Linked DNA regions of Homo sapiens: all the other regions are linked to region 1. The links are contacts of gene promoters, found by promoter capture Hi-C in blood cells and fetal thymus (Javierre and others, 2016). All regions are on one chromosome and are shown on one strand. Each heading gives the region's core, a stretch centred on a gene start or on the middle of the fragment in contact. The rest is flanking DNA. Distances are from core to core; before and after follow the strand shown.

Evidence for each region. Contacts are between HindIII fragments. The CHiCAGO score rates a contact against its expected background, and 5 or more counts as called.
Region 2: the fragment with the promoter of CFAP97 here is called in contact with the fragment with the promoter of CYP4V2 in region 1 in 1 of 17 cell types (M2 macrophages); the score reaches 6.6 in M2 macrophages.
Region 3: a fragment that was not itself captured here is called in contact with the fragment with the promoter of CYP4V2 in region 1 in 1 of 17 cell types (total CD4 T cells); the score reaches 6.2 in total CD4 T cells.
Region 4: a fragment that was not itself captured here is called in contact with the fragment with the promoter of CYP4V2 in region 1 in 1 of 17 cell types (naive B cells); the score reaches 5.2 in naive B cells.
Region 5: a contact is called between a fragment that was not itself captured here and the fragment with the promoter of CYP4V2 in region 1, in 2 of 17 cell types (activated CD4 T cells and naive B cells). The highest score is 6.6, in activated CD4 T cells.
Region 6: a contact is called between a fragment that was not itself captured here and the fragment with the promoter of CYP4V2 in region 1, in 3 of 17 cell types (M2 macrophages, M0 macrophages and naive B cells). The highest score is 7.3, in M2 macrophages.

Annotation. Positions count from the first base shown.
Region 1 is chr4:186,189,718-186,193,521 of GRCh38, reverse strand. It overlaps CYP4V2 (cytochrome P450 family 4 subfamily V member 2), which reads right to left and starts at 1,955. Exons shown (of 11, transcript NM_207352.4): 1 at 1,485-1,955. The coding sequence starts at 1,698. It overlaps FLJ38576 (a long non-coding RNA gene), which reads left to right and starts at 2,032. Exons shown (of 1, transcript NR_046264.1): 1 at 2,032-3,804. RefSeq lists a silencer at 1,629-2,158. The HindIII fragment of the contact is 5,614 bases long and covers 594-3,804 here.
Region 2 is chr4:185,202,109-185,205,912 of GRCh38, reverse strand. CFAP97 (cilia and flagella associated protein 97) reads left to right here and starts at 1,913. Exons shown (of 5, transcript NM_020827.3): 1 at 1,913-2,015. It also overlaps a transcript of SNX25 not described here. RefSeq lists enhancers at 761-850, 961-1,070 and silencers at 1,830-2,001, 1,611-2,380. The HindIII fragment of the contact is 9,685 bases long and covers 1-3,804 here.
Region 3 is chr4:185,461,599-185,465,402 of GRCh38, reverse strand. CCDC110 (coiled-coil domain containing 110) reads left to right here. Exons shown (of 7, transcript NM_152775.4): 3 at 2,354-2,409; 4 at 2,695-2,760. Among named protein-coding and RNA genes, the nearest start is that of CCDC110, 8.2 kb to the left of the region's middle. The HindIII fragment of the contact is 920 bases long and covers 1,288-2,207 here.
Region 4 is chr4:185,478,948-185,482,751 of GRCh38, reverse strand. No RefSeq gene overlaps it. Among named protein-coding and RNA genes, the nearest start is that of CCDC110, 9.1 kb to the right of the region's middle. RefSeq lists an enhancer at 2,006-2,507. The HindIII fragment of the contact is 4,138 bases long and covers 57-3,804 here.
Region 5 is chr4:185,595,588-185,599,391 of GRCh38, reverse strand. All of the region lies in intron 24 of SORBS2 (sorbin and SH3 domain containing 2), which reads left to right. Among named protein-coding and RNA genes, the nearest start is that of SORBS2-AS1, 9.6 kb to the right of the region's middle. The HindIII fragment of the contact is 1,502 bases long and covers 866-2,367 here.
Region 6 is chr4:185,639,571-185,643,374 of GRCh38, reverse strand. The region is part of intron 13 of SORBS2 (sorbin and SH3 domain containing 2); the gene reads left to right. Among named protein-coding and RNA genes, the nearest start is that of SORBS2-AS1, 54 kb to the right of the region's middle. The HindIII fragment of the contact is 1,921 bases long and covers 1,152-3,072 here.

The DNA of each region.
Region 1 (3,804 bases), core at 706-3,205:
TTCTCAAACAACTTGGATATAGTGTTGGAAATTGAACAGTGGTTTTCCTGATGCCAAAATCCAGAATTTGTTGGTGGAATAAAAAGTCCCTTTGTAAAAGACAGTATTCGTCATTGTCTTCACTCTGAAAGTGACTACAAGGAGAATTACTTTAAATAGTCCAGTCAGCTCACAGGTTGTTTTGAAACAGGTCTTTATTCACTAGAGATTTTAATTACTGGAATCCCCAAAACAGTATGATGAGACTTCAGTATATTACTTTCCAGGGGTAGGGGATAGGGGAAAATCTATATTTTTGTACAGTTTATTTTTTAATACCATAAAGCCTTAGGACAAAAGGGGTGGTTAGCTCTGCTTTTAGAATTAACTGAGATGATTTTTACCAGTGTGATTTTCATATCTGTGTTGGATTACTTGTTACATCAGTCATGATGATATTTGGTTGGCAAAGAGTTCGCTTGATTTTTTTCTGTCAAAGTATTTTTAATATTTTGGTAAACACTCTTCCATGAGGCCTCATCTTGTGAAGTTGAAATTACAGCATTATTTTTATTAGAGAAAACAAGTGAAAATGAGAAAAAGTCCTTCAAGCTTTGGAGTTAGTTAATGCTCAGCCTGTAAAACGATTACTAACAAATAATCCCAGAGGAAACTGGGTTCTGGTCTGGGCCAATTTTAAAATATGCCATTTTGGGCAAATCTTCTCATTTCTGGGTACCTCAACGTAATCCCTGATGAAAATAAAACTCTGAGATCGAGTTCGCCCTCCCTGACAGGGAGTTGTAAATACCAGGTACTTTTGAGAGCTTTCTAACTTAACGTGATTTTTTTCCATCAATAAAATGTCCATCTCTGTTTTAAAACATGATTTTAATTAAAAAATTCACTCTTTAATAAACAAGGCGTTTGACACCCTCCAAAGAAGTCTGCCTGAAGGCCCTGCCGTCTCTTAATTGTTATTATGTAACATCCTTTAAAGGGCTAAAGTATGAAGGTCAAGCGGGAACTGAAGCAGCAGTCAAGTCTTGTGATGCCGGGAGGAAGCGTCCAGTGAATCTCTAGTCTCTTATTTTCCAAAGTGGCAGCGAGAGGAGGGCGGCTCTGGGCGTTAAGGTGTTGGCCAGTTTAAAACCGCTCTGTGCTCCCAGGGAGCTTCTGTTCCTAAGGCTTCCCAAGCCAAGGCAGGAGGAAACGGCAGGGCTTTGAGAGCTGAGCAGCGGTGAGGTGGGAAAAGACCGAGGGCAGGGGTTTGGAAATACCGCATCCTGTGCTACACACAAAGAAAATGCTCACTTTGGGATGGGGCACTAGCAGTGTCGGCGGGTGCCAAGGGGCAACGACTAGAACTGGGAGTGCATTCTCCACAGGGTGACAGGCTCCTCTCTCCTGCGGCCAGCGCCACAAGCAGCGGGTTCCTGGCTGATCGGAGGGTGGGAACGGGGCTGCGGACCCCGTTGCGCTCCAGGAGGAGCGCCGGCCCTTACCTCGCCCGTCCGGCTTCATCAGCAGCGCGTGGCCCACCAGTGGGTAGGCGCGGGCCACCGTGGGGATGGGCCGCATCTGCTGCCATTTCCGCGCGTAGCTCGCCACCCTCTGCAGCAGGCTCAGGACCAGACTGGCGCCGGCCAGGGAAAGGGCACTCGCCGCGCCCCACAGCAGCAGCTTCTGCCACACGAGCCCCAGCCAGAGCCCCGCCATCGCCCCGGCTGGCGGCCGCGGGGTGCACTCCGGGAAAGTGCGGGCCCGCGGGGGCGTGGTGCGAGGCGGTGCCGGCCGCACACCGCCCACTTCCCCGCGCGGACCTGGCGCGCTCCCCGCTGCGGGGTCGCCCGGTCCCCGGAACGACGTTTCCCGCCCGGGCGGCGGCCAGAGAGGGCGCCACGGGGCTGTTCCTGCGCCCGGCCCGGCCTACGCAGCACCGCGGCCTCCACGCCCCAGCCGAAAGCGAAAGACCGGAAAACGGTTTCCGGGCCCCAGGGCGTAGTGATTGCACTGGAGGCCCGGAGGCTGCGCCGGGAGGAGGCCGGCGACACTTCCGGCCGCCTCCGGATGCGGGGTCAGGGGCGTCGGAAAGGTCACCGCGGCAGCCCGGCGCGCCCCAGCGGGGCTGTTCTGAGGGTGCTGCGAGGTTGCTCTACGTGCGGGATTCCGCGGGCGGGCAGCCTGCTCTGGAGAGGAAAGGAAGGCGCATCCGGCTCGGAGCCCAGCTCTGCTGCGCATCGCTCGCTCCCTGCGCAACTTGCAGCCCCGGGAGGCGGGGCGCGTCCTGGCTCCCGCGGGGTCACATGGAGCAGCGGGCGCTGTAATCCAGGGAGGCTTTGGGGACACGTTAGGGAAGTCAGCTACCCGTGTGTGTCCGCTGGCCCACTGGGACACTGGGAGCTCAATGAGGTGGTTATGAGCCAGGTATTTTCCAAAATACGCACCAGGCACCAGACCGAGGAAGCCGGAGCCCCGGAGAGCACGCAGGGGCGGGTGGGAGAGGAAGGCGGGCGAGGCTGCTCAGCGGGTGCCGGGAGACCGCAGCCGCGGGGTACTCGCAGAAGAGCCAAGACCTGCCACCCAGCCCGGGAAGGGAGGGAAGGGCCGCGAGAGGGTGCCCCATTTCAGCCTGGGGAGACGCGTGTGCTGGCCGCCAGTCTCTCTTCCCGGCAGAGGGCCCCAGTGCTGACCCCAGCCCCTTTTCCACGCTCGATGCTTCTTACAAAGTGGCCGGGCGAGGAGTGTCGCTCCCCGAGAGGCCAGGCCCTTCCTAAACACTAAAGTGCCAGGAAGATGAAACTGAATGTCCTGGATGCCCGCTTTGCTTAATTACTAATTACGTTCGTTCACTCGAAGCCACTGCATAAGTTGGCCACAGCCACCTGCAGGGCCTCTTTAGTGCAGAGAAAAACATGCCTAAGGCTTTTCTCCATTTGAATTTGTTTTAAGTCATCTGCATGGGCTGACGTGAAATAGCAAGTGAACAAAACAAGTTGCAGAACGGAGTGTGTAAAGTAATGCCTTCTTTTGGAGAAAAGGTTTCTTTCTCTACGGCTCCACTAATGTCTGCAAGTAAAAATACTGATCAGCTCTATGGAGTGGGAATGAAGATGGGGAACTTACGCTTTTTATTTCATTCACGTCTACATTGTTTAATCACTTTAACACTTTAAAAAATAAATATGTTCACTTAGTATCTTTAAGCAAGTCTCATGGGCTTTAGTTTCCTCCTCTCTAAAGGGTTGAGGCTGAGCTATAATAAGGTTAATTACAGCTATAAAAGTAAACAATTTGTCTACATACTGGGGATTCTAAAATAGGGGGAGGAAGGAAGGGGAGTAATGGTTGAAAAACTGTGTATTGGGTACTGTGTTCCCTATTCAGGTGAGGGGATCAATAGAAACTCAAACCTCAGCGTCAGGCAAATTTAACAAACCTGCACATGTGCTCTTGAATCTAAAATTAGAAAGAAAAAGGGTTTGTCTGTATCAGTCTCTGCTAACCTCTGTGGATAAAACCAGGCGGGTAACATACAACCCCTCCCCTCCAGAAGGAGAGAAGGGAGATTGCTCTGGGCAGCAGTGAGTCTCGGCCTGGGCAGAAATGGTCAGAAATGCTGCAGAGCCAGGAGGGGTAAAATGAGCTCAGGGGGCAGTGAGGTGCCCCTGCCTGGAGCACAGGGTCCCACGCAGTGACAGGTGCAGGATGAGGTGGGTGGGTATGGAGCCAGCTTAAAGAGACCTGCACTGCCAGGCTTAGACGCTTTATCTTTATTTTGAAGGCAATCTGTGGGTAAAGAACAAAATAAAAGCCTTGTCCCTT
Region 2 (3,804 bases), core at 664-3,163, 990 kb after region 1:
GCCATTGGTATATTTTCTTTGGAGAAATATCTACTCAAGTCCTTTGTAAGATAAACTTTTGACCACAGTTTGTTTATTTATTTAGAGACAGGGGCTTGCTCTGTCGCCCAGGCTGGAGTACAATGGCGTGATCTCAGCTTACTGCAACATTTCCCTCCTGGGTTCAAGCGATTCTTCTGCGTCAGCCTCCTGAGTAGCTGGGATTACAGATGTGCACCACCACACCTGGCTAATTTTTGTATTTTTAGTAGAGACGGAGTTTCACCATGTTGGCCAGGCTGGTCTGGAACTCCTGACCTCAGGTGATCCGCCCACCTCAGCCTCTCAAAGTGCGGAATTACAAACGTGAGCCACCGCGCCGGGCCAACCACAGTTTAACAACTATCCCTGGAAAGTGGTGCCAACACAGTTTTATTAAGCACTTTAAAAGAAAGTGAAATTCTTGCTTTTTTTTTTTTTGAGACACAGTCTTACTCTGTTGCCTAGGTTGGAGTGCAGTGGCACGATCTCGGCTCGCTGCAACCTCCACCTCCGGAGTTCAAGCGATTCTCCTGTCTCAGCCTTCCGAGTAGCTGGGACTACAGGCTCACGTCACCACGCCCAGCTAATTTTTGTATTTTTAGTAGAGACAGTGTTTCACCATATTAGTCAGGCTGGTCTTGAACTCCTCTCAGGGGGCCCCACCCGCCTCGGCCTCCCGAAGTGCTGGGATTACAGGGGTGAGCCACTGCGCCCAGCCAATGCTGTCTTTTAGGCAACAAAAAGAGAATTGATTATACTTTTGGTAATTAAGACCAACAAGTACAAAATGCATTGTGAAGGACGAAAATAGACAATCCTTACTGGAACTCCCCGGGACAGGCAGGGTAAGACCCATATTTCCTACCCTTCTTTGCACTTAGATGTGAACAATATTTATTAACTACTGGATTGTATACCATTGCTGCTATAACAAATTACTACAAATTCAGTAGTTAAAACAACACAGGTGTATTGTCTTACAGTGCTTAAGGTATTAAGTCTAAAATCAAAATTTGCAGGCTCTAGTTCCTTCCTGAGGTTTCAGGAGAGAATCCGTTTCCTCCTTTTGCAGCTTCTACCTGCACTCCTTGGCTCATTGCCTCTGACATCACTCCAACCTCTAGCTTCTGTGCTCACAGCTCCCACTACTGACTTTGAACTTCTTGTCTCCATCTTATAAGGACCTTTGTGATTCCATGGGGTTCACTGGATAATCCTGGTTAATCTTCCCATTTTGATCCTTAATCACATCAGCTAAATCCTGTCTGCCACATAAGGTGACATATTCACGTGTTGTGGGGACTAGGAGGTGCACATTTTTGGGGTGCCATCATCCTACCATACCTGAGAGTTCAACGAGAAGTTATTGTATTCAATATATTCTGCAGAGATCATTTTTACCTTAGATTGTTTTAACTACCCACCTCGTTTACCACTCGGCAAAGGTCTTTCCATTCTGAAACCAGCCTCTGGTCCACAGAACTAACTAGTGGTATGAACTGAAATTTGCTGATAGAAAATATCACAAACACACAGCCGCCGTTCTTTTTTATTCTTGGTTTGGTAGAGAATTACAAGATAATCAAGGCAGCTTTCCCTATTAACGCACGAGAACAACGGGGCCTACCCGCGCCGCCCTAGGCAGCCGGGAGCAGCAGTAACGCCTCTAGGGCGCCATGGCAACCACGCGGGCTGGACCGCCTTCTTCCGCGGCTCTTCTAGTGTGCGCGTCCCTGGCCCGGCCTCCACTCCGCCCGCGTGGAGCCCCGGCCTGGCCGCCTGCCCGCCGCGCTCTGTGACGCCCGCCGCGAGGGCCGCACGAGGCCCGGCGTGCGCCCCCGCCTCTCCCGAAGCGCCGGGCCCCACGCCGCCCCTCCTTTCCCTTTCCGCTCTCTCCGCCTCCGGAAGCGCGGGCGCGCGGCGCCGGGAGCCCGTTCAGGGCCGCGGGAGTGCGCCAGCGCCGCGCGTGGGGCTGTGGTGGCCGCGGCTCTCAGGTGAGGGGCGCGCGAGCGGCTCCTGGCTCCCTGCTCGCGGGGCGCCCGCCACGCTCCTTTCCGTTCGCATCCGTCTCCCCGCTCCGGAGCCCAGGCGGCGGCGAGTACTCGGGGTGGGTTTAACGAAGCCTGCGCGGACGGTGGGAGACCGCGCCCCCACGACAGGGGCGCCCGCGGCGGCGGGTCGCGGCGCCGTTCCACCCCGGTCCCCTGTGAGAATGGCGGGTCCCGCCCTCTCGCGCGTTCCGGGTGGCTTTGAGGGTCAGGATCAGCCCTAAATTGAGATTGGGCCGCGACCACATGCCGGGCCCTGACGACTTCTTCCTACTTGTAGGGACTCGAACCTAACCCACGAGGCCCGAGGGGTTATCTGCCTTCCGGGGACGGTAGGGGATGTAGACAAGAGCCTAGCGTTCCTGGAAACAGGTGTTTAATTTGGGCCGGGATTTTCATGTACCCAATTGGGCATCTTGTTGGAGGCCTACTGTGCTGTTTAACTACAGAAATGTATTGTCACAGTAACAAGATGACAGTTTAAAAAGTGCCCGGTGCTTTTCTGTGTATTTTCCTGATGTTTGGTGAAAGCATTAGTCTTGTTATTGCTGGTCTGTAGGACCTGGCAAGTGGGGCGTGCCCAGTGACTCTCAGGCAGCTTTGATAAAAACTTACCTGTCTCTTTTTTTTATTTTTATTTTTTGAGACAGGGTCTCGCTCTGTGGCCCAGGGTGGAGTGCAGTGGCACGATCATGTCTCACTGCAGCCTCCCAACTCCTGGGCTCAAGCGATCCTCCTGTCTTGGCCTCCCAAAGTCCGGGGATTACAGGCGTGAGCCATGCCCCTCCTGGCAAAACTCTGTCTTGATTGAGCACCAAAGGGTTGTTATGGTCTGATGAACTATCCTTTAATTTTATCCTTTCCTAGTCTGTTGTAAAGAGAATCTTAACTACTTTATTAAGTCATTTTTCTTATTCTCTGGTAAATTGAATCACTTACCTCGTAGTAAATGTTATCAAAAGAATTGCTCAGTGGATGGGATTGTTGGGTAAATTTTCCTGTAAATTAAGTCACATGAGTGTCGAAATCTTTACAGTAACTCTGTTGGATATTATTAACTAAAATTTAAACCTGAAAAGTCTCACAGGCACCGGACTATGCACCAGGGCGCATGAACTGTGACCACTTAGGGAGGCAGCTGGCTTCCAGCTCTTGGGGACTGCATGACCTTATCATGGAAATGCAGATAAAGGCATAGTTGTGGTTTGTGCTTCCGGAGGGGTGGGGGAAGATGGCAGGAAACTATCAAGGAAACTGGGTTGAAACCCGGTGATTTTTTTTGTTTGTTTGTTTTTTGAGATAGGATCTCACTCTGTTGCCTAGGCTGGAGTGCAGTGGCCTGATCTCGGCTCACTGCAGCCTCAGCTCCCAGGTTCCAGCGATTCTCCCACCTCAGCCTCCGGAGTAGCTGGGACTACAGGCGAGAGCTACAACGCCCGGCTAATTTTTGTATTTTTTGTAGAGGTGGGGTTTGGCCATGTTGGCCAGGCTGGTCTCAAGCTCCTGGGCTCAAGTGGTCTGCCTGCCTGGGCCTCCCAAAGTTACAGGCATGAGACTGTAACATGAGCCACCGCACATGAGCCTCCATGCCCAGCCACACACATACAAGGCGATTTTTCTACCCTCGTGGGTAGCAAAGAGCATGGCTCAATCTTAAATCTCCTAACTCCAAACTCCTTTGTGGGATAAACATTCTTTGAATGACTAAATTCATCAGGTTCTCCTTTGGGTACTG
Region 3 (3,804 bases), core at 498-2,997, 730 kb after region 1:
CATTGCTTTCTTTGAAATCTTTGATTTACTGTATCCCTTTATTAAGTCTGTACATTTCTTTTGGTCTCATATTTCTTATTTGGTTTTAGCTAAAGGAATCTTATATTTAGCTTTGAACTTGCAAATCCTCCTAATGAAAGGAAATCTGTACAGAAAAAGGAAGCTATTCCTGTAGGTATGGGAAGGAGATAGAATTTTGAACAGTTACATCACTCAGAATAGAGTTGAAGGCTGAATACATTTATGAGAATGATATCCTATCTTCGTGTTTAAATAAAGAGCTGTGTGGAAATTACAGTTACAGAACAGAATGTAAACATAAACCTTCACAGTGTATAAATCACATAACTAGCAAATACCATGAAAAGAGGGAAGTAGGCATGGAAGGAAATAGAATGCTAATTTTCTCATCTCTCTTGGCAGGGAGTAAGTCAACAATGAATACAATAGAACTGTATGTTATTGAAACAATAAAGGTTTCAATCTTTAATTCTTTTCATGTTAATTTTCATTAGTTTACAGGGATCTCTTAGGAAATAATATCTCTCATGTAGTAAAAAAAAATCCAAATACTAGAAATAATTTCCACTACTTGCAGTTTTAAAAATTCTCTTAAATTCAAGTAAATATAGGCAATATTTATGTAAAATACCATTTATGTATAAAATGATTCCACTTCATCCACTTATGTGCATAGAGAGCTGACCGAAAGATGGCACCTAAAATTAACAACAGTTCGTTGTGGGTGGCAGGATTCTAGGTGGTATATTCTTCCCGATTTGCACTTTGGTCTAGTTAAGTTCATTAGAAGAGGTTACTTTAGAGTCTGAAAAACGTTGTGTTTCCTTCCTATGCTGGTCTGGGCCTTCCTTCAGTTCCTTATTTTTTAGATGAACAGTTCAGGATACCAGGAGTTTAGCTGCCATTTTATTCCCAAGAAGAGGCAAAGCTAAGCAAGATCCAGACAGCAAGATCCGCCCTCTGACTGAAGGTGGAGGCAAAGCTAAGCAAGATCCAGACAGACTCGCTCTCCCTCCCCACCCTCTGACTGAAGGTGGGATTCTTCAATAGCCAGGCAGCTCCAGGCTCCAAACCAGCGTTGCCCCTTTGGTGGTGAGGGTCAGAGAGCAGAAGGGGTGCCTGTACTTTGCAAGCGGCTTCTCTAACATCTGACAGCCTGCCAATCCAAAGGAGATTCGCTGACCTCTTTTAAAACTTAGGGCAGAAATTATCAGCCTAGGGGAACGTTCCATCATAGCTCTCATTTTACTTAGGACACTGAAAGCTTTTATGAATACACTCTTTAATAAAAAGTTTACAAAGCAAGCAGCCTAACATGCAGACAAAGAGGGATATAAGGGCATTTGCAAACATGATAGAGTCTCCCCCTGTTGCAGATCTATAATCTATCCAGGACGGTATCAAGCAAGTGACATTCTGCCTATTATCAAAAGAAGCTGGAGTACTTCTGTCTACTGTATCTTAGTATCGGAGTCGCCAAGCAAAACACAACAGTCAAGCACCGGATGCAACAACCCTTTACTCACAGAATGAAGAGACGGAGCAAGATCAGCCTCAGTAGTGGGTGTTGGTTCCCCATGGCCAGAGGGCCCCTTCTGGCCCATCTATAATCTAGCAGGGGACAGAGTAGCAGGGTTGGCCAGGTATCATATGACACACACACTTAAGCAGAACAAAGGAGTACACACTGAGTCTGAAGCGGGGAGTGCTATCCCCACACATGGTAGCAAGTCCAGCACAGGCTGTGAACGAGGACTTTAAAAAGAGTCCCCTTGGTAAAGAAGTGTTCCAGGCCCAGGCCCATTCATACATGGCCAAGAGGGGATCTAAAGACTGTGAATGTGAAACTGCCCTTCCCAAGGGAAGCCACAAGTGCGTACTGTGCTTAAGCCAGGACAAAAATTATGCTGTTGATCCAACTTGGTTTCCATAAGGGGAAAAATGTCACATGGAAATTTCACAGAAATTGAGGCCTGTATACTACTTTGCCAAGGGTCTCCCATAATATGAGCATTATTAGGTTTTTTTTGAATGCAGTTTATATCCCAGAAACAAAGATATTTGATATTTGAGTTTTTGAGAGTTCTAAGTGTGGTGTTGCAAATTAACGGTGTACTCTAAAAGTGAAGACACTATTACAACCTCAAGTGGATATATTAAGTCAAGCGAGAATTATCACTTAAGCTTATGTGACTAGCATAGTGTGAATATCAGAAGTTCTCATTATCTCTGCCTCACTATCCAAGCAAGTTAGGAGACTGCTTTCTATTACAGGTTTTAAAAAATAAAATTTAAGAATTAAGTCACATGGTTTTTCAATTTTGCTTCTTAGAATATGGCTGCATAGCAGAATCAGAAAATCAAATCCAACCACAATCAGCATTGAAAGTGAGTCTATATTCCATTTTATCATCTCCAAAATTCTGGGTAAAGGCTGATCTTTTTCAGAATAAATACTCCCTAAATGCAAACGGGTTCTCTCACTTTATCCTCACAAGGATCTCCATGAAAGCACATTGGGGAGTTAGCAAAATGCCTAAGAATGTGAACCACCTGACCCTCACGGGATCTTTTCAAGTAATAGGCAACTTTGGGAGACATAAAATCATAACAATTCAAGAATACGTTTACCTACCTAAAAATACTCAATTTCATACTTTACTTTTGTCATAGGTCCTTCAGCAGCAGTTGGAATCATTTCAGGCTTTGCGAATGCAGACTTTGCAGAATGTCAGCATGGTATGTTTCTTTTGATCTATATATGAAATATCTCACCTTGAAGTATCATCCCATCTTCTAAGCTGATGGTCACTAGCCAATGGATTAGCTGACACAGAATTTAATATAATAGAGGCCACAGCATATTCTAGGCTCAAAATTTATTTTAAAGAAACTACATTCTTCTCTCTGTTATACTTGTATTTGGAAACAAGCCCAAAGAGATAGCACTCGCTGATTTTTTCAATACACGTTTAAAGTCTATATATAGACTACAAATAGGGACCCTCATTATAGGTGACATGAAGTCTAATTCAAACTGGCTTAGGGAAAAAATACACTTTAATAGCTCAAGTAAATGAAAGTCCTGGAGAGAGCTCACTTCAGGATGGCTGAGTCCACATGATCAGGTCTTGTGTCGTCAAAATAGGTCTCACTCTGTATCCTGATTCTGCTTTCCACAGTAGGGGATTCTCAGACTCCCTGTGGTGGCAGAAGATCTGCTAGAAGGTCCAGTTCTTTCTCCTTCCAAATTCAAGTCAGAGAAGAGAGTACACTTTGCTTTGAGAAGGAGTTTCATTTTTGTCACCCAGGCTGGAGTGTGGTGGCATGATCTTGGCTCCCTGCGACTTCTGCCTCCTGGGTTCAAGCAATTCTCCTGCCTCAGCCTCCTGAGTAGCTGGGATTACAGGTGCCCACCACCATGCCTGGTTAATTTTTGTATTTTTAGTAGAGACCAGGTTTCGCCACATTAGCCAGGCTGGTCTTAAACTCCCGACCTTAGGTGATCTGCCCACCTCAGTCTCCCAAAATGCTGGGATTACAGGCGTGAGCCACCGCACCCGGCTACACTTTGCTCACAATAGTTTAGACTGAGGCTCTTGGCCTGATTCAGATGGATCCCGACTGGGTCACATGCAATGCTTGAACCAATCACTGTCAGGTGGCCGCTGTTCCCTGACTAGTTAGCACTCAGTCAGGTGCCCCTGGGAGTTAGAGGCAGAATCAATACTACCATAACCACGCTTCATCCAGAAGAAATAAGGAGAAGTATAAACAGAAGTC
Region 4 (3,804 bases), core at 876-3,375, 710 kb after region 1:
TTTTCACTTAGGATAATCATAAAGTTTTCATGGAATCACAAAGCTCTCAGTAAGCTTTGTCAAAATTGTCTCCTGGATTCCGTTTCAATATAACTTACTTCAGGTATTAGAGCCTAATGGTTACGAAAATGATCTTTGGACTCAGGCAGAGGTGACATGAATCCCAGCTCTCTACCTGTCAGCTTAAGAAACAGGGAAATCACGAAATCTCTCCAGACCTCAGTTTCATCAACCCATAAGATTAGGATAATCCTACTTTACAGGGTTGTTGTAAGAATTAAGATAATTCATACAAAAATATCAAACACATCACCTATTAAGTAAACTGTAAGTAATCCCTTAAGAAACTATTATTATATATAATTTTCACTATTCAATCCCAGATCCAAAATGACGTTCCTCTTTCTTCCAATTATTCTTTGGTACTAAAATCAAGGGTCAATTAAATGAGCACAACTATATCAAGCTGCAACGTTCACAGAGCTGGATTCCTATTCCTGCGGATCCCAAGAGAGCTGATATTTCACACTGAAACTGATCAGGTTCATGGAGCTCACTGGAGCTTTTCTTCATCTGAGGAGGGCAGTTTTAAAAGCCTGATCTCACATGAAACCCAACTCCACCAAAGACTCACTGACAATACTCTGTTATATCCAATGGTAATTTCAAGGCAATTCTTAATTCTTTAAGGATTTAGAAGACTAACAGAATTAAAGTCAATTCTGAGTAAGATTTCCAGCTACTGACACATTATTTCTAATCCTTATAACAACTTTGCCAAATAAATATTTTACAGATGAGGGAAAGTTTCAGAGAGTTGGATTTTTGTACAGGGCCAAACAGGTAGAAGGAAAAAAGCATGTAAACTCACCAATATTCACTAGTAATAAGTAAGATGGTTTGGAAATCTTTACACCTATGAAATTTAAACATTATTAAAATTCCTCCTCTCTATTGTATGGTTTTATTTTTTATCACTGATAAGTTATAGTCCATGTTTGTTCTCTTTAGAATAAAAATCATTTCTTCCATGAGTGCTAGCAAAAGCAGTGTGGAATAATAAAAACATTAAGTAATACTGTCACTAAGAAGGTTGTCATGGAGAGAGCTCTGGATAAGGACTTGGAATGCGGGCACAGCTTGGCCATCTGCAGAATGAGGAGGGAGGACAGGATGATCTCTGAGACCTCTAATACTCAAATACTCAATGTTCTGTTTTTGACATTGTCTTCACCTGTGTCAACTAGGCTGGCCATTCCATTTAGTGAGGGCACGCTGTCAATGTGGCCAGGTTCTTGGTGCAATTTAGAAGTTTCTTTCTGTTCCATGGTCATAAATGCCACCTCTAACTCATGCGTGGCTCACAACAGAAATCAAGCAAGGAGCATGCATTTATCATTGCAAATTAATTAGCTCCATTGAAAGTACACATTAATGGTAACTTTATATAGCAAGGGGAAACATGCCATTATTATTAATGTAAAACAAGTGGCCTGAGGCAGTGCAGCTCTTTAAGTGTCTAAAAACTAGAAGGCAGTTTGGCATCAAAAAGAAAGGGGCTCTCCTAACTTTTAAAGTCAGATAAAAAAGGAAAAAGAGAAAAAGGGGCTCATGTACTACAAGTTGAATTAAAGACTCCTCAGTCTGGAAGAGGCTACAGAGACTACTGCCTTTGACAGACTCAAAATGATGACACCTACTCACCCGTAGTAAACTTCACAGACAGCACTCATTGGACCTAAGGACCTTGTTACAAAGAAAGTGTGTTCCCCGTTGCTTCTGTCTCTGTCATCTCTACAAAACGGCCAGACCTTCACACATTCAAAGAGACTGTTAGTCCTCTGTCCTCCTCTTGGTCCGAGTCATGTCTATCACTCAATTCCTATTCTATTACTCTATTCTTCAAGTTCTCTTTCCAACTTATTTTATTGCACCCAGACTGTCTTTGCCACTGATTCTCATTCCCAGCCTACAAACATGCTCAAGTACTCCAACCCATCCTAAAAATATCCCTTTCCCTAACACCTGCTCCTTCTCGAGCTACTTTGATATTTCTCTATGTCTGACCCTTTAGCACACCAAACTTGTTAGAGTTAAACCAGCATCACTCTCTCAGTAACCCACCATAGCATTAAATAAACCCTCTTAAAGCAGCAATTAACTTCCTAAGAGCCACAGCTGGAGTTTACCTTGTTGGCTTATGGAGCTCATTCGCATATAGATGAAATCAGGTGTTAACACTAACACTAACGGCAACTTAAAGAAGGCTGGGGGAAGAGGTGTTTGTATTTGGATAAAGCCTTTGAGTTGCGGAAGGAAGGGCCACTACCCACCCAAGACATCCTAAGTCCCTAGCACATGGGTCCTCTCTGTGATCAAAACACAATTGCCCAAATTTCTTTCTTTCTTTCTTTCTTTTTTTTTTTTTGAGACAGAGTCTGTCACCCAGGCTGGAATGCAGTGGTGCAATCTCGGCTCACTGCAAGCTCCACCTCCTGTGTTCAAGCGATTCTCCTGTCTCAGCCCCCCGAGTAGCTGGGACTACAGGTGCCCACCATCACGCCTGGCTAATTCTCTGTATTTTTAGCAGACACGGGGTTTCACCGTGTCAGCCAGGATGGTCTTGATCTCCTGATCCAGTGATCCGCCCACCTCGGCCTCCCAAAGTGCTGGGATTACAGGCGCAAGCCACCACGCCCGGCCCCAAATTTCTTGTACCCTAAGGGCAATCTGGTCGTTTTTTCATGCTACTATAGATTTCATCTATGATTAATAATAGCCTTGTGATATCAGGTTTAAAAAAAGGTCTTATGAAACTGAAAAGCCCAGAAGTATTTTAGTCTGGTAATAAGTTGCTAAGAATAGGTTCCCTAGCTTGTTTTTGTGCAATGCTCTTGACTTTACTCCAGATTGTTAAATCTGCAGCTGTTAGTCAACAGGTGAAGAGGATTCCCTAGGAGGAGCTACTGTTTGAAGATTTTTGAAATACTGTGACTCACAGCTTTTGTTTAAATTGGTACTTCAGATTTTAATTCCATCCTTCAGCAAATGACCTTCACAATCAAAAAAAGTCAAAGATTTTTTTCAGGGCAGTTGGTGGACTGACTAACATATGTGGCCAGGGAAACCATACCCAACCCCCTACAGAATATGCTCTACCCTCTATCTGACATGGGGCCGAGTAAAATAGAAAGTCTCACCACAAGAAGGAGGTTTTGCAGGTGGAGTGGGATGCCTCATCAGGTATTGTGAACTTTCAGCTCTGAAGATGTTTATACGGTCTCTATACTCTTGTAAAATTTAGATTAAACACTGAGCTAACCCCTAGAATTGTAATGTGTTATGGGTTGGGGCAGAACCAAAGTTTCGGAATTAGGAAGTCTGGTACTGACCAATTACAAAGAGTTTTTTAAAGTTCCCTAACCTCATATTTTCATATTCCCACATAAATCTGGAAACAACATTTTTCCTAAAATTCTGCAACTCTCAATAAAATGACACATAAGCAAGAATATATCACCCACAACTTAATTATTGGGGTAATAATTACAATAAGGAAGGAGGAGATTTAGCATCTTCCAGAGTATTAAGGTTCTAGACTTTGTTTCCCTATTTCAAACAGGGTAACGAACATACATCACTGTCGCAGGAGAAGGAGGTGTCAGGAGGGCCTGGGCAAGGGGACTCTGCATACTTTTGCCAGGTTTTTGTGGCTATCACTGACCCTTTATTTCCTACATATTGAAAATGTGCATGCTGTAGAAGATACTGAGTCCTCAGCAGCAGCCAAAGAGGCTGGGAAAA
Region 5 (3,804 bases), core at 367-2,866, 590 kb after region 1:
TCGTTCCATAGTATCTACAGTACTTTAAAATACATGGACTCTAAATGGTACTTACTATCAATTCTAAGGAATGCAGCCAAGGAGTTTGGAAATTTTCATCTGGACATAAGTCAGGATTCCTTTCCTCATTTCTGTTTTAATGGACCCGGATTCAACCTTGACTGGCCTATCGCATGGCCGTGCTTCTGCATTTCAAGAAGTTCTCAAGGGCTTGATTTCACAGAAGTCTTCATTTTTTATTTCTAAAGAAAAGTCGATATTATTCTGCATTCATGCCACTTTGTGCTTTTTGCATTGCATAGGAAGACCTCATTTTGTTGCTGAGGCAGAGCTTTGTGTTGCCATAGAGACAGAAATGCCAATTTGTAGAGACTCTTAGACTCCCCCGAATGGCCTTCCAGAGCCAAAGCAAAACATAAGCTTCTTTTGCAGTGAAAAGGACCCATCTATAACCCTCCTGTGGGTCCACGAGATGGTATGCTTGTGTTCCCCTTAAGGTTTTTTTTTTATTTTTTGCCTGATTTTTACATTATGTATTTGTATGTCAGATTACACGTGTGTTTGTGTGAACCATAAATATTCTATTTTTTTAGATTTATGCAAAGTTGTGTTTTACCTTCATAATTTAAGAAGGAAAAATAAGCCTCTAGAAACATAAACGTGGTATTATTAGGAGAATTTCATCGAATTCTGGTGGGCAAATATGACAACTAATATTTTATAAAAAAAGATAAAAACACTTTAGCACTGCTTATATTGCTTTCAGAGATTTTTTTGCATTAGTGTTTAAAGTAACAGTCAATCCTTCTTTAAGAATTATTTGATACTAAATATAGCTAATCCTCCAGAGATAACTGCAGAAGCTTTGATAAATTAGACGGCTTTTCAACAGACTGTAGCTCACTAAGATCGGAAAGTATATATTTTACTGATGTTACAGACTCCATGATGTTTCAAACCAGCTTCCTTATGAACAGCAACTTGTGATTGGTTCTGGCTTTGGAAATTAGCATGTGTTTAAAACTTGTCTCTTTTGTATCCGTTTTTGACAACATTAAAAAATAGCTACAGAAAAATACTTACATAGTCAGGGCTACAGAAAAAAATACATATTTAGGATACGATGAAAACCGCAGCATGCTTCACTGGATTTTTCTCTTGTTCTACTCTTAAGATTCATCAAGGAAATATAAGCATAATATAATTCTTGTTCAAAATGCCCAGCACAGTGATTGTAATGTGTCAGTTGAAAGCCATCTTTCTAGGTTCAGCTCATGTAAGCCTCTCTGAATGTCACAAGTGTATATTGTTCTATATTTATCTTAAAACTGCTAAGAAGTTAGGGGAAATGGAAATGCCTGCACAGATAGTCAAAATAGAAATGGACACGGACCAAAAATGCTGGTGGCTTTACAAGGGATGCTTTCTCAAAAATTTAAAACGTGGGGAGGGAAGAACATGGTTAGGAAAACAGATGACTGTCTATTCCACATCACTCTGCGGCCTTTAAAATAGGCTTTTAAAATTTTTCCAGCCTTGGGAACTTGGATAAAAAGGGGCAGATAAAGCAGAAACAACTCTCAGCTTGTTGCTGCCATTGCTCACCACTAGGTGGCGACAGAGTGCAGCTGCATTACAAATCTCTGCTTAAGCGACTTGCCATTTGAGTTACATCACCAAGGGGAAAGGGCGAAAGACAGTCTCCCCAGATAATCTATTTACATCACCTTATAGGACATTTGCACCTACCTCAGCGTCAAAATTAAGATGCTGATTTTAGCCAAGGTAGGCCAAGTAGTCCATCATAGTAATCTTTCATGCAATAGCGTGCACATCGAAATTACCATTTTGTTTCTTTTTCTGTTTGTTTTTTACCTATTTGTCGTATTAAGAAATTATCCAGTATCTTTGGGTTTTGGTTTACCATTCTGCAAAATGGAGTTGAATTGTAACCATTATTTTTTTTTACGTGACCGAGACACATGAGAATTAACCAATCAATGTCAGTGTCCCAGCTCTCTGTGTAAAACTGATGACGGACACCTTTACACAGCAGAGGAAATACATCTGTGGAAATGTGTATCCTTCATGGAATCCCTGAGGGGACCCGATTAACCCTCATCTTGTCCAACTCATTGATTTCAGAGATAGGGAAGCTGAGGCATCCCCAAGGTTATATGGTGCTTAACGCCCAAAACAGAAAGACGCAGATGAGCCGTCTTAGATAACTGTTCTTGCTACTCATTCCCTACTAGTCAAATGCCTTTAAAATAAACTATTTCAAGTACTGTAATTAGTCAGCTTTCCTCAAAACTGTCTCCTAGTTATCCACATTAACATGGAGGTGATTCTTGTTAAAGGTAAGCTTTGAAAAGTTCTAAAACTCGCCATTATAAGACACACACAACTTCTCTGCTACGAAAAGTCTTGATTGATTCTGGCCTCAGGATGTGAACAGTATAGAAAACTGATGATTTGTGTGTAAAAAGAGGGGCAGGGTTTGAAAGATATGAAGGAAGGGAAAAGAGAAATTGGGAAACAGGTAAAAGCAAGGACGGGGGCCGGGCGCAGTGACTCACGCCTGTAATCCCAGCACTTTAGGAGGCCAAGGCGGGAAGATCACAAGGTCAGGAGATCGAGACCATCCTGGCTAACATGGTGAAACCCTGTCTCTACTAAAAATACAAAAATTAGCTGGGCACGGTGGTGCGTGCCTGTAGTCCCAGCTACTCGGGAGGCTGAGGCAGGAGAATCGCTTGAACCCGGGAGGCAGAGGTTGCAGTGAGCCAAGATCACACCACTGACCTCTAGCCTGGTGGCAGAGTGAGACTCCATCTCAAAAAAAAAAAAAAAAAAAAAAAGCAAGGACGGTGCTGGCTGCCCCACACAGGAACATACGTTCTCCAGCCATGGACGTGGGATCCAGGAAGCTGCAGGTTTGCAGCAATCACCAAATTTTCATAATGGTCAATGGGACAGTTCAGTTAAATGATTGATGAGGTGGGTTGAGTTAAAGGAATTAAACTAGTAGAATTATAATGATGATAACTAAAAAGGGATATACGGACTTTAAAAGTTGATTGTTTTACATTAATGAACAATTTGATTTTTAAAGTGGTATTCACATTTTAACAAAAGAGCAATGAAATGAAACTAACCAGTTTTACAAAGCATTGGATGCCATGATGTAGAAGTTGAAACTTTTACTCAATTTTAAAATATTAAAATGGTTTAAATGTGTGAAAACAGGGATGCCAATTTTAGAGCATAATGAAATATATTTTACACAACATTTTCTCTTAAGACAAGAATAAATAATATTTTCTTATTCATAACTTTATTATGCACTGCAAATGGTGCTATGATTGTTTTGGGGAAAGAGTAGTAGCTATCTTGGTATATGATATGCAGTCTGGCATATTAGACATTTTCAAGTTACTTTTGAGTACAGTATTTTTCAGTGACTAACATGTACATTCTCAAAATCATATGGCTTTAATGCATACTCTTTGGCCAGAAGTTTTACTCCTGGGAATATATTCTAAAGAATAGTTCAAAAGAAGAAAATAGCTCTTTGCATAAAAAATGTGTATAGCATTGCTGTTTATGATAGCAAAAAAAAAAAGACTAGACCAATTCTAACTTCAAAACTAAAAAAAAAAGAGAGGAATGGTTAAGAAAACTATGATATGTAGACACACGTGGGAGAACATTATTCTGCAGACATTTGAAATAAGAAAGAAGACTGAGAAAAAAAGACTGGAAAGTTATTACAAAATAATATTAATGGCAATTGATGTATAC
Region 6 (3,804 bases), core at 863-3,362, 550 kb after region 1:
CTCTCCTCCCACCCTCCCTGCCTCGCTAGGTTCCAGCTGCACAGAGAACTTTCAATTCCCGCATTGCTGGGCCTCTGTAAAGGCTGCACCTCCCCACCAGGAAAAGCTCTCCCCACCACCTCTTCCTTCACATGGAGAATTCTATCCCATCCTCCAGGTCCCAGCACAGTCCCACCTCCCCCAGGGAATGTGCCTGACTCCTCTGCATTAGGTTGGAGGCTCTCCCTGCTGTGTGCCCATGGCACACTGTGTTCCTCATGAGATCTTGAGCTTCTTGAAGGCGAGGGCTGTGACTGGTCCACCAGTTGTATCCCAACACCTGGGACGATGCCTGGCCTGTAGCAGGTGTTCAGTGAATATGCATTCGTGGAATTTCTAAGTGAATGAAGGAACACAGGTTTCACCCTTGCAGTCAGTGGAAAAAGTTGGTGAGGGACTGAATCCTTGTTCTGTTGTTTATCCATGAAGCCTATATATTTCTAGTGCAAAAGGCCCAGTGGGTCTCAAAACATTCTTGGAGGGGTTTGACACACTGCTATTAGTAGTGACTCATAATTCCACGATTCCCTGGGATACAGAGAAGGCAGGGGGGTAGTACTGTTTGAACAAAAATCTTCCCAAGACCCTGGCAAAGAGATCTTCCTTAGGAATCAGTGGCATATGCGTTTATGTTCTTTAACAGGGAAAGTAAAAGTGAGCGCACTTTTTTGAAGCTCATAAATACTCATGTGACTGTAAATTTAGAAATGTTAATTAATTGGGCCTAATGTTTGATCTGGAAAAGTACTTAGCAGTCACCAGGAATTTGCCTTGAACTGACTCGAACCACAAATCAGAACCGTATTTCCACAATTTAATTTTTCCATGAGACAATCATAAAAACTCTGCTGGGATTATATTACTAAAACCTTTATATCCCATTGCATTGGATATGTTTGTAGGTGAGTAATGTTAAATTTAAAAAAAAAAATTAATAAAGCATTTGTTTAGGACCTCTGTATGCTTGATAAAGTAAAAAAAAAATATATGAAAATGTTACCCTAACCTACAATAACTAAACTTGAACATAATGATAAAAGCAGAAGAAAATAGTCATTGAAAACACTGTAGCAGAGTTGAAATGCAACTTAAACCCTTAATGAACTTAAGCTTCTTTATCAATAAAGATTGTCAGTCAATACTTAACTATAAAAATTTAAGGAGTTTCATCTGATGACCATTAAGAATTATCCCAACTAATAATGTATATAGCATTTATTGTGAAACCACAATAAATATAAAACACGGTAGTCAATGTCATTAAAACTTAAAATGGAATGAGCGTAATTTGAAAAACAAAATAGCCCTGGCACTTCTTTTTGTTTAGAACAACGTATAGAAAGCACATGCCTCACTGAGAATACTTAGTGGAATCTCGATAACCACAAAAGCAATTAAATGCTTTTAAATTATAGAAAACACTAAAATTTTTAAAGTTGTTCACCCTTGGTAGCTTTTAAGTAAGGATCACTTGTGATTTATAGTTGTAGCTTTTCTTGAACACGTCCTCTTGCACTGATGACTAACAAAGTTAGTTTTAAACGGAGGTTTGCTGGTGGGTTTTTTTTTTTTTTTAATGAAAAGAAACAACAACAAAAAAATCACACCAAGGCTAGAAAGATGCATATCAGTATCTTTGCTCTTTTGCCTTTTATGAGCAATTAGAGTAAACCATAATCATACCTCCTAAATGAGTTTCTGAGTGTTAATATTAGTGCTGTACTCAAAGGAATGTCCATGTTCCACATGGAAAGTGTTAAATTACTGAGATTAGTGATTTGTGTGTATATCCATCTGTTGACTGACCATCTGTATGTGTGTCACTGACTGTTGCGAGGCTTCTGTGTTCCTTAGCAGTGCCTCCAGGTCACCATAGGACATTTAATTATTGCATGACTTAAAAGATTCAATACGGCAACCACAGCAAAGAGAAAATTCTAGTTCTGCCACTAACACTTCCTTTAACACAACTCTGCTCAAACATGTGCCTTTCATTGCATTCCAAAGTTATCGATAATTACCAGCTATCATTGTTTTGGGTGTTTTCTCTGCTAATTTCTATTGGCATGCATTCTAGATAGTTGCCCATTGTAACTATAAATTGACTATTTAAATAAACAAAAGCATAATTCATGGAAAACTGCCATTCTAAGGTATGATGCAAGATGGTAGATATTCTGCTTCCTTTTCCATATTCTATCATAGAGATGCATTACTATAAATCAGGACTTGGTATATCCATTTGTTACATATTTTCTTAATGTGGGAGTCAAAGTGAAGCTACATAGCTAACAAGTCTTATTCATTTAGTAAGTTGGCTGCCCTCTGCTGTTCATAATGTTTCTTAAACAGATTCGTTTCCTCTAAGAGAAGTTTCTATCTCCCCTTGGCAAAACAAAATACTATTCTTGAAAACAGAAGTTATAATAATTAATGATATCATTCAGTGTGTAACATTAGAAACTATGAAGTTTAAAAGAGTCAGAGGTTAGTTTTCCTGTAGAAGAAATAGTATGTCTCTCTAAACAGAAGAGAAATTACTGGAAATTCTCTCTCCTGTCAGTTACCCTAAAAACCAGCTCCAGCAAAGCCATTTCACGAACAATTATGCATCTATAATGATCTAAATAATAATTGGAGAAAAATAGTATTTTATGGACATTAAAATCTCAATTAATACTATTGCAACTATTGAATCAAATATAAATTGAATTAAATTTTTAAATTCAACAGAAAATAGCAAATTGGTTACTAGAATATTTTGTCTCTACCAATTTCACTATTACTTCTGAGGTGTAAACCAAATATAATACTGGCATAAAGAAGGAAAAATATCTCAAGATTTCTAGGCATTTTCCTATGTCTAATAGTAGGATGTTCTCTCTGAATTTATTTATTACAAAAATAACATTACAACAATAAAGCAAAATAATATTTAAAAGAAAGAAAAAACAAACAGTCGCAATACCAGAACACCATTGTAGTCGTTTGTGTATGTGTGACTTCTTTACTGTGTTCATGCAGAGACAAGCTTTGTAATACCTTTGTAACTACTGTACAGGTGCGTGGTTAGATTCCGTTTTGACTGCTTGGTATCTCATTGTAAGCATTTCCCAGGGACACTACACAGTCTTTATAATTATGATCACTACATCTTTTGGATAACTTAGGCTTTTGCACTATTTTGTCACGATGCCTCAAACTTTTCTATCATTGTCTGTAATTACTCCTATAATCTTTTATTATAAAATATTGAAACAAAGTCACATCACTAAAAACACTGTGAGTATAATTTATTAGTAAGTGTAGACTGTGTATCATTAGCAAAACTTGTAAATGCAACGAGTCAATAAAACAGTAGAACAATGTCAAAATCATGGCTTTTGTTGGAATATGGAACATTTCAAGCTCCCAGCACTGCGAAGGTTACATAGCATTTTTTTCACAACCAAGATGTCGCTATTCAGTTTAAGTCCCTGAGTTTCTTTAAGAATTGTAAGCAAATGATATTGAATTGTTCTGAAGCAGTGAGCACTTAATAGTCCTCCTAGAATATGTCTTGGGAGTCACAGCTCCTCTCCTAGCCAGAGTGAATGGCTTTTAGGGAACCATATAATTTTTCTTAGAATTTTTTTTCTGACTTAAGATACTGTACTCTTCAATTGTACCACATTTAATTAGTGTCATATAGTAATTATCAAAGAAGTAATAACTTGTATATAGTACTTTAAGCTCTTAGATTTACTACAAAATCAGCAGCCTAAA